3 separate regions of the Homo sapiens genome follow, and regions 2 and 3 are each linked to region 1. The links are contacts of gene promoters, found by promoter capture Hi-C in human tissues and cell types (Jung and others, 2019). All regions are on one chromosome and are shown on one strand. The core of a region is centred on a gene start or on the middle of the fragment in contact, and the rest is flanking DNA. Distances in the headings are between cores, read along the strand shown. Region 1 holds the start of ZBTB7C (zinc finger and BTB domain containing 7C). Region 2 has its middle 79 kb from the start of SMAD2. Region 3 overlaps SMAD2 (SMAD family member 2).

The links. The method cuts DNA at HindIII sites, captures the fragments that hold promoters and counts their contacts. A contact is called where the count stands out against the background at its distance.
Region 2: a fragment that was not itself captured here is called in contact with the fragment with the promoter of ZBTB7C in region 1 in 2 of the 25 tissues and cell types used here (dorsolateral prefrontal cortex and heart left ventricle).
Region 3: a fragment that was not itself captured here is called in contact with the fragment with the promoter of ZBTB7C in region 1 in 1 of the 25 tissues and cell types used here (heart left ventricle).

The regions. Positions count from the first base shown.
Region 1 is chr18:48,407,291-48,411,605 of GRCh38, forward strand. ZBTB7C (zinc finger and BTB domain containing 7C) reads right to left here and starts at 2,093. Exons shown (of 5, transcript NM_001318841.2): 1 at 1,936-2,093. RefSeq lists enhancers at 374-993, 994-1,611 and a silencer at 2,882-3,261. The HindIII fragment of the contact is 7,054 bases long and covers 1-4,315 here.
Region 2 is chr18:48,007,466-48,011,705 of GRCh38, forward strand. No RefSeq gene overlaps it. Among named protein-coding and RNA genes, the nearest start is that of SMAD2, 79 kb to the left of the region's middle. RefSeq lists an enhancer at 177-1,090 and silencers at 766-875, 886-935. The HindIII fragment of the contact is 4,020 bases long and covers 1-3,611 here.
Region 3 is chr18:47,920,530-47,924,391 of GRCh38, forward strand. The region is part of intron 1 of SMAD2 (SMAD family member 2); the gene reads right to left. Among named protein-coding and RNA genes, the nearest start is that of SMAD2, 8.2 kb to the right of the region's middle. The HindIII fragment of the contact is 8,124 bases long and covers 1-3,862 here.

The DNA of each region.
Region 1 (4,315 bases), core at 843-3,342:
TTCTTCTTGGCTAATCAAGCTGCATTGTGTTACAAAAGGAGTTTGAGGAATTTGGGATAATGAGGGAGCAGGAAAAGTTGGGATAGTGTCAGACTGGACTTTGCAGTGACAGTCCTGGTTTTTTTAAGCCAAGGGCACGGGACGGGAAATATACCACATTCGCTGGCAAGCATGGATTTAGAAAGTACCAGATAAAGAGGCCATGATGGGCTTGGGGTGTGGGGGTGGCATTTCTGATCTCAAGCCCTACCAGGCCTTGCCCAGGGAAGTCTCTCCACCCTTGCCTGGAAGGCTGATGTCATTTCTAGTCTCACTGGGCCTCTAGCCACTGTAGCAGGTCACTTTCCTTCCTTGGGCCTGAGTTTGCTCATCTGTAAAATGAGTGCTCCTAATATCTCTAGGGTCTCTTTCAACTTCAAAATCCTATGACCTTCTATAAAGCAAAGGGCATGCTTTTTGCTCATGTACTTGTGGGGGCAGGGAGCGGGAGCCACCGGACCAAGGAGAATGAAGGACTGAGAGTTTCCACCTCTCACGCAGTTTTGTACCTAGTTTCAACACCCGGGTATCTGGCCCGCTCTGGGAATAATGATTTCTTTCAGCCCAGGACGACCTACCGAGGTGTTTCTACCTCGCTGCCCTGGATTCCTCAACCCCGCCAATGAAGAACAGGGCCAAGCCACCGGACTTCTCGGAGCCTCTCTCCCAGGTCTGGGCACAGTATATCTTCTTTTAAGGGGTCTTCCCTTCCCACTCCCACTCCTCTTTCTGTCCTAGAAGCACCAGAAACTCCGGCTCTAGCCTTGCGCATGGTCCAGCGAGACTTCCCATACAGGCAGCGCACGCCACCCACCCCCAGCTCCCCTCGGCCTTGCGCCCGCGCCGCGGAAGGTTGGGTACCAGCCTCCACAGCTTTGCAGATTGCAAAGATAACGGGAGCTGCCGCTTCGCTTTTCTTTGGCTCCTCCTGGCCTTCATCCTAGTAAAACCAGACAAGCAACCGGAAAAACAAAGCAGCACAGCGGCCAGAGACAATTCGCTTTCAACGGAGCAAGAGACGTACACACCTTGAGAGAAGACGCACGCAGTTCCCGTGCGTGTCGCTGGGAACAGACCTCGCACTACCCCGCGCGGCGACAGGCACCGGGCCAGGCTCGGCTTCACTTGTCCGAGGCTTGGAGGAACTGTGTGCGTGCGCCCATTTCCCCCAGCTTCCCGACTTGACAGCAGCAAGGATCTTTGAGTCCTGCATGAGCGACACCTCGGGCAAGGACTGTACTCTGCTCAGATCTCATCGAGAGGTGCTGGATCCCAGCCTTTCCAGCTCATTTTCCAATTTTCAAGAAAAGACAGCGCGAAGTGAGACTGCAAAAGTCCCAGGAAAACGTCACTCACCAAAACGCTCCCGCGCCTTCCAGGCAGAAGTGCGGTAAAACTTTTGGCAGAAACCACCTGTGGCTGCCGACGGGCCCGCCCCGCTCGGGCCCGCAGGCGCCGCCGAGCCCCGGGCCGCACGCGCCCGCAGAAGTTCCTTTCCAGCCCCGCGCGCCACTTCGCTCCGGGCCGCGGTGCCAGCCAGGAGGCGCGGCGCCCGCTCGCTGGCTCGCTCTCCGCTGGCTCTCCCCTCCCTCCTTCCCTCCCTCCCTCCTCCCGCCTCCTCCGTTGCATGGCTGCCGCACGGAGCCCCTGAATAGCCACCGCAGCCCCCCGCCTCCTGCCCACCGCGCGGAGGGCGCCCCTGCTCCAGCCGGCGCCCCAAGGCGCGCGGACCGCCGGCCTCCTAGCAACGGCCCCCGCAATCGCTTTCCGGCGCAGCCCAAGCAAAGCCACCCGCCCGCCGCCCCGCGACCTCCCGAACTGCCTCGGCTGCCGAGGTGCTGTGGAGATCGCGACCCCGGCAGCCGGCGCCCGAGCCCGGCGCGCGAAGCCGCTCACCTCCGCGCGCCGCCGGCCCTGCGCGCCTCCCGCACTTGGCTCCGGGACGCAGTCCTGGCGTCCTCCTTCGCCGCCGGTGTCCGCCGGTCCCTGCGCGCCCGAGCCTCGCCGGCCGCGCCGCTGTCAGAGTCTCGTGGCGGGGCTGCGCCGGCGGGTATGGAGCTGAGCGGCGGCAGCGGGCGAGCGGGCAGCTCCTCCCTCCCCGCGCCGCGCCTCCGCCCTCCCCGCGCCCCGCCTCCCGCGCCGCGGCTGTCAGCCCCGCGCCCCGCGCCCCGCGCCCGCGCCGCCGGCTCGGGGGGCGCACAGGGCTAAAGGGCCCGGATGTGTGCGGTCGCCTGTCGCTCGCGCCCGCCCCCTCCCCGCCGCGCGGCACATGCACTTGCTGCGCCGCAGCCCCCGCCCGGCTCCGCTAATTTCTATTTTGACAGTAACTGTGGCGAGTGGGCGGCGCGGCGGGGGGCGCCCGGGACTGGCGGAGGCTGCGGGCGGGAGTCAGGACCCGACGCGGAGGCGGAGTGGGGGGGCCGGGCACCGCCACCAACCGCTCGGGGCTCCGCGTCTTTTCTCTTTCTTTCCTTTTTTCTCTCTGCCTCCTCCAGGATTTAAAGGGACAGCCCCGGCAGAGGCGAGGGGGCCAGGCGGCCGCCGTTTCTCCGGTCTCCTGACGCCCTCTGCGGCCCGGCCGGACCCGCCCGCACCCCCAGCGCAGGCTTGGGACCGCCGGGTATTTTTAGGTCCACACCCGACCCGGGGCAGCGGTGCGGCAGAGATGGGCTCTGCCGACCCGGGGCAGCGGTGCGGCAGAGATGGGCTCTGCCGCCCCGGCGCACGGCTATTTTTACAGAGTCCGATGGGGGAGGAAATAAAACAACTCGGCAACTGCTTTTCTACCCGAAAGTCGGGAGCAAGGAGTGGGGGCGAGAAGTTAAGTTTCCCAAATGCTCTCGGCACTCCAGCGAGCGCACCAAGACGCCTAGCCAGCACCTGAAACCGCAAGCTTGCCGCACCCCGGGGCGCCGAATCTCAGCGGGCAATCGCGCTCGGCGGCGCTGCGGCCCGGAGTCCCCACCCCTCTGGAGCCTTGGGCCCCGCACTCCGCACCCCACACGCCGGGGAGCAGCCGCTGGCCGCCCGTCACTCCCCGGGTCGGCCTGGAAGGCGGCCTTCCGAAGCGTCCAATCACCGCGCAACAATGCCAACGGGCGGGCCCGGGGAGGGCTTGTCCCCGCCCCGTCCCGCCGGGCCCCGCCCCCTCGGAGTCTGTCGGGGCAGGAGAATCTCGCTGGGACGCCGAGTGCTCAGCGGTGCTGGAAGCCACGAAGGGCCAGTGCGAGGGGAGGAGGAAGGGTCCTGGCCCTGGAGAGGGCGTGAGCGTTCTCGGGCGAGGCGACACTTGGGCAGATGTTCCCTCCAGCTACGGGCCGGGGAAACTCGAGCTGGCTTTGCCTCCTACCTTTTTGCAGTCCACCCCTCTGCGCTCCAGACAGACATAGGAACCCTCGCCCTCCTTGGTAGTACATCGGAGGCAGCACCCTCGCACGTCAGCGGGTCCTCTCCGGGGCTCCTCCCTCAGAAGCGGGAAAGTTTGTCGTCCTCAAACTCCTACCCGGCTGCGCTTATCTGAGGCGCACCTGGCGCCCAGGAGAGGCGAGATGGCGAATCCCGGCCGCCTAGTGCCCATTCTGGCTACGGATTAATAAAAGGGCAGTGGGGCTGCTGCTGTGTCCTTTAATGCTGAAGACACTGGATGACATTTTTTACAGAATTCACAAAAATAAGTTTGTGAACCTTTGGTGCCTCTTCCTAATATCACTTATTGGGATTTTTTTTTAAACCATTTCATTCATTCGTGTAATAAACGCACATTGCAAGATAGTACGTTGGGAGTAGTGAAAACAAGGGAAAACGGGCTCTGGAATAGGATGTAAGAGTGGAAAACTAGATATGAATAGAGGGATCTGAAACGTAGGGTTTGGGTACAATTATGTCACGTTTAATTTGCCAAAGAGATCTGGTTTTTCCTACTAAGTAAATTTCACCAAATGAACAGTTTGGACAGCCATCTTATCCAAACTATTCAAATGCACATGTAAATCTAGGATAGTCTATCGTGGAACCTAAGGTATGTTCAGGCTCAGGATGTCAGATTTCCAAGTTGCTAAAGCTTCCAGAATGGCAAAATAATATATCTCGCTTTCAGCAGCTGTGGCAGCCACTGCCCTCTCATATTAGGTTTGTCTCTCTGTTAAATTAAGTTGCCTGTCTTGCTTCCCTTCATTAAAGGGTTTTCAGTTACTTGGAATGCTGCTGACCCAGCTGATATGGCCCCGCTTCTAAGCCATAAGTCTGGCTGCGCCTCATGCCAAGCATGCGGATGCAT
Region 2 (4,240 bases), core at 352-2,851, 400 kb before region 1:
TGCCTCTGTTTCCCCCCATCATTCTTGACCCCCGTTGAGGTGTTAGTGGATGCTCCGGCCGGGTTTCAGCCAAACACCTGGGTTCAGGCTGAGGTCCATGCTCAGCTTCGGGCCAGGGCACTGGAGCAGGAGTGGCACTGAGGGCCTGTCCTCACCAGGGTCTCCTTCCTTTGCCACCTTAGGCAGCTCTGGGATGTTTTATAGGGGAAAGTGGCATCTCCTCCCCTGCCCATGAGGAGGGTGGTGCTGAGTAAAGGTAGCCTCTGCGGGCAGGAGATGGCAGGGACCATGGGACCCAGCAGAGTGAGGGGTGCTGAGGGGTCTCAGAGCAGAGAGACTCCCTTGTTCTGACCCTCTCCAGCTGACTGCAGGTCCGCGAGCCTGGGGGCCCGGACGCTCCTCCATGTGCTTTTCTGCCCCACTACTAACTTCAGTCCACATCACAGCCTCCGAGAGTGGGGCTTCTGGGGCCATCCCCTCTGTGCTCTCCGCAAGCACCATTCTGCGGGACTTTGTAGAGTGACCCGAAGCTTCCGCTCCCTAGCCCTGTGCTCTTCCCCTCTCCAGTCCATCTCGGCCGGGAGTCGGGTCTCTGCCAGCCCAGCGCTCGGAATGGAGCTTTGTGGGGCTGGGGAAGCAACCTTTGCCAATGGGAAGGGGGTGTCACAGCGCCTCATTCCCTCCCAGCTTGCGCTCCTCGGAATAATCTCCAACAGCGTGCCTAGAAGCACAGCTGCTTTTGTTTCGGGCGTCGGTGCTTCCCAGAATCCCGGTGCCCGGACCCAGCCGCCGAACCGACCCCGCCCCGCCGCGGGCTTTGTTCCCTGCGCTGCGCACTGCGAGCGGCGGCCACGCGGGGGCGCTGGGCCGGGGGCGGGGGCCAGGGCTGGGGGTGGGGCGCGCCCCCGGGCCACCTCCCCCGCCCCTCCCGGCTCCTCCCCGCTCCTCCTCCCATGCCCCGGCCCCCGCCTCGCAGCTGGGCTCGGACTCAGGCTTAGCCGCAGTCTGTGAGCCTCCTCCCCGCACCTGGCCGGCCAGGCCAGCCCAGCCTACTTGTCTCGCTGCGCCCGGCTGCTGCCTCCGCTCCAGGGGTCGGCGCCGGGACCTCCTCCTCCGCCGCCGGCCCGCCCGCGTCTACACCGCACACCCGTGGCGCGCCCTCCAGGGGCGGTTTTTCTCCCGGGGTCCTAAGTCTCACTCTACCTGCTTCACGCTTAGTGGTCCTGTAGAAATACAGACGCGTCGTAGGCACTTAGTAAATGTCTGTTGAATGACTGTGTGTAAGCACTCGTCCGTTCTTTACCACACCTCATTTTTAAAGTTAATGGACGTTATTTTTTTCAAGCAATTTTAGATTCACAATAAAATTGAGCCAAAAGTACAAAAAGTTTCATTTCCCCCCTGTACCCACCCCCGAACAACCTCCCCCACTCTCGACCTCCAGACCAGGGCATGCATTGGTTGCCATTGTGAACCTACACTGCCACATCAGGGTCACCCAAAGTCCACAGTTTTCTTTAGGGTTCACCCTTGGTGCTGTACACTCCATGGGTATGACATGTGTAAGGCCATGTCATTCCGGTATCACACAGCATTTTCACTGCTCCAGAAATTCAACCCTCCGTCTTTCCAACTCCTGGCAACTCCTGCTCTTTTTACTGTCTCCATAGTTTTATGGAATCATGCTAATTTTCACAACCATCCAAGAGGTAGGAACTCTTCCCCTTTTGCCCTTGAAGACACTGAGGCTCAGGGATGTTGCCAGGGCCCTGTCAGCTTCCTGATAGGAAAGCCACTAAATTCCAATCGGCTACCAGTTTTCCTGCAACCCTGGCCTGGGATACTCTCCTGAACAATGAAGCCAGTAATGGCATGACCACAGCGCTGTCCCACCCTGGCCAGCAAACAGGCTCCCTCAGGGGACTCCACTCCTCTACCTGGACACTTCTGCAGGCGGGAAGTGGGTAAGGAGTGACAGGTGTGGACTGCCTTGCTTGGCTTCTGGGAGGAGCCATTTGTGCCTGCTGCCAGGCCTGCTGAAACATTACTAGGCTGGGCGGAAGTACAGATGGAAGCCCTGGTCGGTGGTCTGCCCCTTCCTTTCCCTAGCCCAGGCTCTGACTTCGCCGTAAGGATCTTGCAGAGCAGGCATGGACACCCAGCCTGCAGCCCAAGCTCCATCCCCACCCGAGAGCCAAACACCCCCCAGGCTAATCCTCAGGCCCGGTAGTGTGTACACTGGTGAGAGCAGACAGCTGCGGGAAGAGGACCTGCAGAGGCCCTAAAGTGGGCCCCTGACGGGAGGCAGAGCTCAGATAATAATTTTCGTCCATGTGGGCCCCAGGACCTTTGGGCAGGGCCCTGGGTACCTGAAGCATGATCCGAAAGGGAGGGCATGAGCTCCAGGTGGGCATGTCCCTTGACTTTGTGCTAGGGTTACCAGATTTAGTAAATTAAAACAGGAGTCCCCAACCCCTGGGCGTGGACCTATTCTGGTCCATGGCCTGTTAGGAAGTGGGCTGCATAGCAGGAGGTGAACAGCAGGTGGATGAGGATTACTATCTGAGCTCTGCCTCCTGTCAGATCATCAGGCATTAGAGTTTCATAGGAGCGAGAACCCTATTGTGAACTGTGCATGCGAGGGATCTAGGTTTCCTGCTCCTTATGAGGATCTAACTAATGCTTGATGATCTGAGGTGGAACAGTTTCATCCTGAAACCAAACCTGTGCCCTGTCTGTGGAAAAATTGTCTTCCGTGAAACTGGCCCATGGTGCCAAAAAAAGTTGGGGACCGCTGAATTAAAACACAGGACACCCATTTAAATTTGAATTTTAGATAATTGCATTAGTCTGTTTTCACATTGCTGATAAGACATACCCAAGACAGGGGAATTTCCAAAAGAAAGAGGTTTAATGGACTTACATCTCCACATGGCTGGGGAAGCCTCACAATCATGGCAGAAGGCAAGGAGGAGCAAGTTATGTCTTACATGGATGGCAGCAGACAACGAGACAGAGTTTGTACAGGGGAACTCTTCTTTTTAAAACCACCAGATCTGGTGACACTTATTGGCTCTCACAAGAACAGCACGCAAAATCCTGCCCCCATAATTCAATTACCTCCAGCCAGGCCCCTCCCACAACATGTGGGAATTCAAGATGAGATTTGGGTGGGGACACAGCCAAACCATATCAATAATCAACAAATAATATTTTAATAGTAGTATGTCCCAAATGTATACTTATACCCCCCAAATTATTTGTTTATCTGAAATTCAAATTTAATTGGGCATCCTGTATTTTATCTGCCAACCCTGCCTTGTGGACTCCTGACCCGTGGGGAGAGAGACAGCAGGAGGAGGACCCGAGTGGAGTCCTCAAAAGTATGGGGCTTGGGCAGGGGCCTCAGTCCTCTGTGCTGAGGCTGTCCTGGCTGCATGTTTCAATATCCTGAAATTGCAGCAAGGTTCTGGCTTCTAGGGGTCCTGGGAACAAGGTCCTTGTCAGGAGCTGGCTCCGCTCAGTAGGAGACCAGGGTGGTTTGACAATAAACTTTGCCATTGAAGCTTCTGGAATGCAGGTGTGTTGGGTGAAGGCTGGGGAGGCAACAGATAGTGTGAGGAGGTGGGGAGGTAGGATGGGGACAGGAAAGTAAGCTTGCAGCTGCTGCCTCCATCTTGGTCCTTCCAAGGTTAAAGAAGGTCAGGGGTATGGGGAGAGGTTTTGGGGAGAGATGGGGGGACAGGAGGGACACAGCGGCAAATCCCTGCACTGCCAGGGTGAAAGTGCACTGTGGTTGTGCAGCCTGCTTTCCTGGCTGAAATGTTCCTTTCACGTCACCATAGTTAGCATTGCAGACCAGGTCATGAAGGAAGCCAGGCAGGATCTGATGGAAGCCGGGCAGATGGCCTATTGAGGCACAGAGGGTAGGTTTCTTGCAGGTTTGGTGTTGGTGCCCATTGCCCCGAGCTTGGGCCCATGCAGATCAGTGGGGTCACTCAGGGCAGTGAGGGAAGCTCTCACTGGAAGGGGAAGAGCTGGCTCAGGGAGGAGGTGGTGGATGTGGTGGAAAGGCCAAGGTGAATGTTTGGGAATGACTTCTGGAAATCTTTTGTGGAGGACTCACTGAACTGCTTTAGAATTGGAGTCCCAGTCTATCCTAGTGGCTTTTAAAGGAGCTACCTGGAAGAGAGAAGCCACTGTCCTCAGGGCAATGTTCTGGGCAGGTGGGAGTTCTTGT
Region 3 (3,862 bases), core at 1,082-3,581, 490 kb before region 1:
ATAAACGAAAAGCTAGTAACAGTGGTTACATTTCTGGAAAGCACAACTGGGCAGCAGGAGGTAGGAGATGTAAAGGAGGCTTACTTTTTTCAGTATTTGCTATTTTGTTCTCCTTGACTTTTATACCATGTGCATGTGTTATTCGAAAAAATGAATAAAGTACATTCTCTAAAATAAATTACAAATGTAGATATTCTTTGAACTACTCCTAGAAATCTATCTTACAGACATACCTGCAAAGGAGCAAAATGCTATATAAACGAAGTTATTTGTTGTAGCATTGTTTTTAATACCACAAGACTGGAAACATTCAACAGAGGACTGATGATATATTCAGACACCCGGCCAGGCACAGTGGCTTACGCCTGTAATCCCAAAACTTTGAGGGGCCGTGGCAGGCAAATCGCTTGAGCCCAGGAGTTCAAGACAAATCTAGGCAACATGGCGAAACCCCACCTCTACAAAAAATTTTAAAAATTAGCTGGATATGGTAGGCATGCGCCTGCAGTCCCAACTACTCAGGTAGCTGAGGTGGGAGATTAACTTGACCCCTGGCAGTCAAGGTTGCAGTGAGCTGTGATCACACCACTGCACTCCAGCCTGGGTGACAGAGTGAGACACTGTCTCAAAAAAAAATTTACAGACACCCATACAAAAGAATATTATACAACCCACTACTCCAAAAAAGAAGAAAGGCATTCATTACATACTGACACAAAATAAGATGTACTATTAAGTGACATATGTGACCACTTGTACTAAAAGGTAATATACACACAAAATTGTTCATAGATGCATAAAATCTCTGGAACACCACACAAAAACCTAGTAAAGCTACTTGCCTTTGAAAAGGCAACTGTATGGCAAAGAACAGACCAGTAAAGAGACTCTTCACTGGGTATCCCTGAATTTTGGATTGCAGTCATGGATTATGTATACAAAAATTCACTATTCCACATGCAGCTGTAGATGTTTTCATGTACCCTGCCTTGCCTTGCTGTGATATTAAAGTCCATCTAAAGCCTACTGTTTTTCCAGTTCCTCCATAGAGAGGTCTGAGGCTTCTTTCTCCAAGAAGCCCCAGATGTTTCAATGATACCAGAACACTTTTCATTTTTTAATTTTTTTAAGCACACAGTTCCCACAGTTCTGTCTCCTTTCATTGAATGGCATTATAACCTCAGCCCCAACTACTGAATCTTATCTCTAGTAAATCCCCCAAGGCCACACTTCCCTTAAAGTTGACTGATTTTTCTAAGTTTCTAGTACCTGGGCACTTTCTCTCTCAAGATCAACTGTATACATAAGAGAAAACTTTTATATTTTATCCAACATTTTCATCTGTTTACAGTAAGAAGAATGGGCCTAACTTGTGTCTGTGTCATTTTAAGAAATTTAGATAAAGACAGTATAAACAATAACAGCAAACACTGAAGAAAGTATGATCACTGAGAAAAGACTGCTAAACTTGACAGTTCATCCGGAAGGCCAGTAGGAAGGGAAATGTGAAAAAGAATGGTTAAAAAATATGTTTGCAAAGTTGAAGTCAAGAACAGATAGTGATTAAATGTAGAAAGCAAAAGTAGATTGCACTTTTAAAAGGTATGGAGGGAAGAGAAATTTCAAATCTTCAAACTGCAGGAAAATACAAAATATTCCCCAAATACCTATGTGAATTTTTATTTAGAAAGAAAACCAAAGTTAATTATTTCAACAAAAATACTTTAAATATGATGGTGCTGCCTCATCTAGAACATCTAAGGTCCCACTAGAAATAATATAAAATCACTGTGCAGTCAATCCTCCTTATCTGTGGGTTCCAAATACATGGATTAAACCAACCATGGATAAAAAATATTCAGGAAAAAACTGTGACTGTACTGAACATGTACAGACTTTTTTCTCATCATTTCTAAAACAATATAGAATAACAACTATTTACATTGTATTAGATATTAAGTAATCTAGAGAGGATTTAAAGAATAACAATAAAATGTGCATAAAACAAATTCTACACCATTTTATACAAGGGACTTCAGCGTTCTCATATTCTGGTGCTTGCAGGAGAGTCCCGGAACCAATCCTCTGTGGAGACCGAGATTTTTAGCAATCTATGTTCAAACATACTACAAGGCAGAGAAAAAAACAGCAGCATCAATGACCTGGAATTGTATAACTGTTTTAGTCAAATAAATAATTCATTAGTAACCAGGATAATAGAAAACCTCAAAAAAATTAAAATACATAAAACCCAATTTTTTAAAAACAGATTTTTCAATTCTCACTACAACTATGTTCTCTCCAAAGCGTAAGCTAGTAAGGAAAGACACTGCCAACTGGAAACCTAGGTCGGCCCCCATGGAGAATGATGGGTCATGTCTTTTAAACAAAAGCAAACAGAAAACATTCATGTGTTCAACTTTATGGACTGTCAAACCTAATGCAAGCTTGAATTTAATTCAAGAAAATTATTATTTTAGCAAAAGTCCACATTAAATAGGGACTGCTGTGTAAAGAGACTACTTATTTTTTTTTTTTTAACTAAGAGTTATATTCCTATCACCTATAATGAGTTTTGTGGAATCCACAACTCTATAATCAACTTGTAAACACGTAACTTACATATTGGTTTATCATTCCCAGATTATTAAAAAAAAAAAAAAAGCACCTATGACAACACTACACAGGCCCAGACTCAAATCAGCACAAATATAAAGTACAAGTACTCTAATTGCTCTTCAAATTCCCAAAGTCTATCCTGACCCTCTTCTGAAGCAGCAACTAATACCACGTCAATTCACGTGAGTGGGGTCCTCAGGCCATAAAAGCTCAATTAAAGCAAAGTCTAGAGTAGTGCCACCCAACACAACTTTATACAATGATGTAAATGTCCTTGGGTATCTGTGCTGTCTAATACAGTAGCCATCAGCTGCATATGGCTATCTAAATTTAGATTAAGTAAAATTTAACATTCAGTTTCTCAGTCACAGCAGCCACATTTCAAGTGCTAAATAGCCACATGTGGCTGGCAGCTACCTGTTAAGATAGAGCAGGTCTACAGCAAAAATTTCTCCAAGACCTACTGTTCTTCAGCTGTGCTTCAAAGGCTTCCTGGTGGTGAGGATGAGAGGAAAACTGATCAGGCAGGACTTCAACAACTGCCTATTCTTCCTTCCACAAAACAGCTTTACTCCTTTTATCTGTTTTACATTTCGAAATTCTGCATATTTCTCTCTAAAGGCTTTCTAGTTGCTGCTGTGTGTGCAGGTGTGCACATGTTTTAAGTCTGACTACTACTGGTTTCGAGCAGAAATGGCCAATGCACAACCTCAGGCCAAAGCTGGACCCTCCTGATAACTAAAACATTTTTTAAAAAAAAGTTTAATTGATCAGCTAACATGAACTACAACCTAACTACCTGTCTATTAAGAATTTTAGGCCGGGCGCAGTGGCTCACGCATGTAATCCCAACACTTTGGGAGGCCAAGGTGGGCGAATCACCTGAGGTCAGGAGTTCGAGACCAGCCTGACCAACATGGTGAAACCCCGTTTCTATTAAAAATACAAAATTAGCCGGACATGGTGGCGCATGCCTGTAATCCTAGCTACTCAGGAGGCTGAGGCAGGAGAACTGCTTGAACCTAGGAGGCGGAGGTTGCAGTGAGCCAAGATCGCACCACTGCACTCCAGCCTGGGCAACAGGAGCAAAACTCCGTCTCAAAAAAAAAAAAAAAAAGAATTTTAAAAGTGGATCTCAATAAGGAAAATTTACATTTACTACCACAGATAAAGTATCTCTAGTCAACAAAAGAGTTTCAATAGTTCACTCAAGTCAAGGCAGAAGGCTCACGGGCCCAGCTTC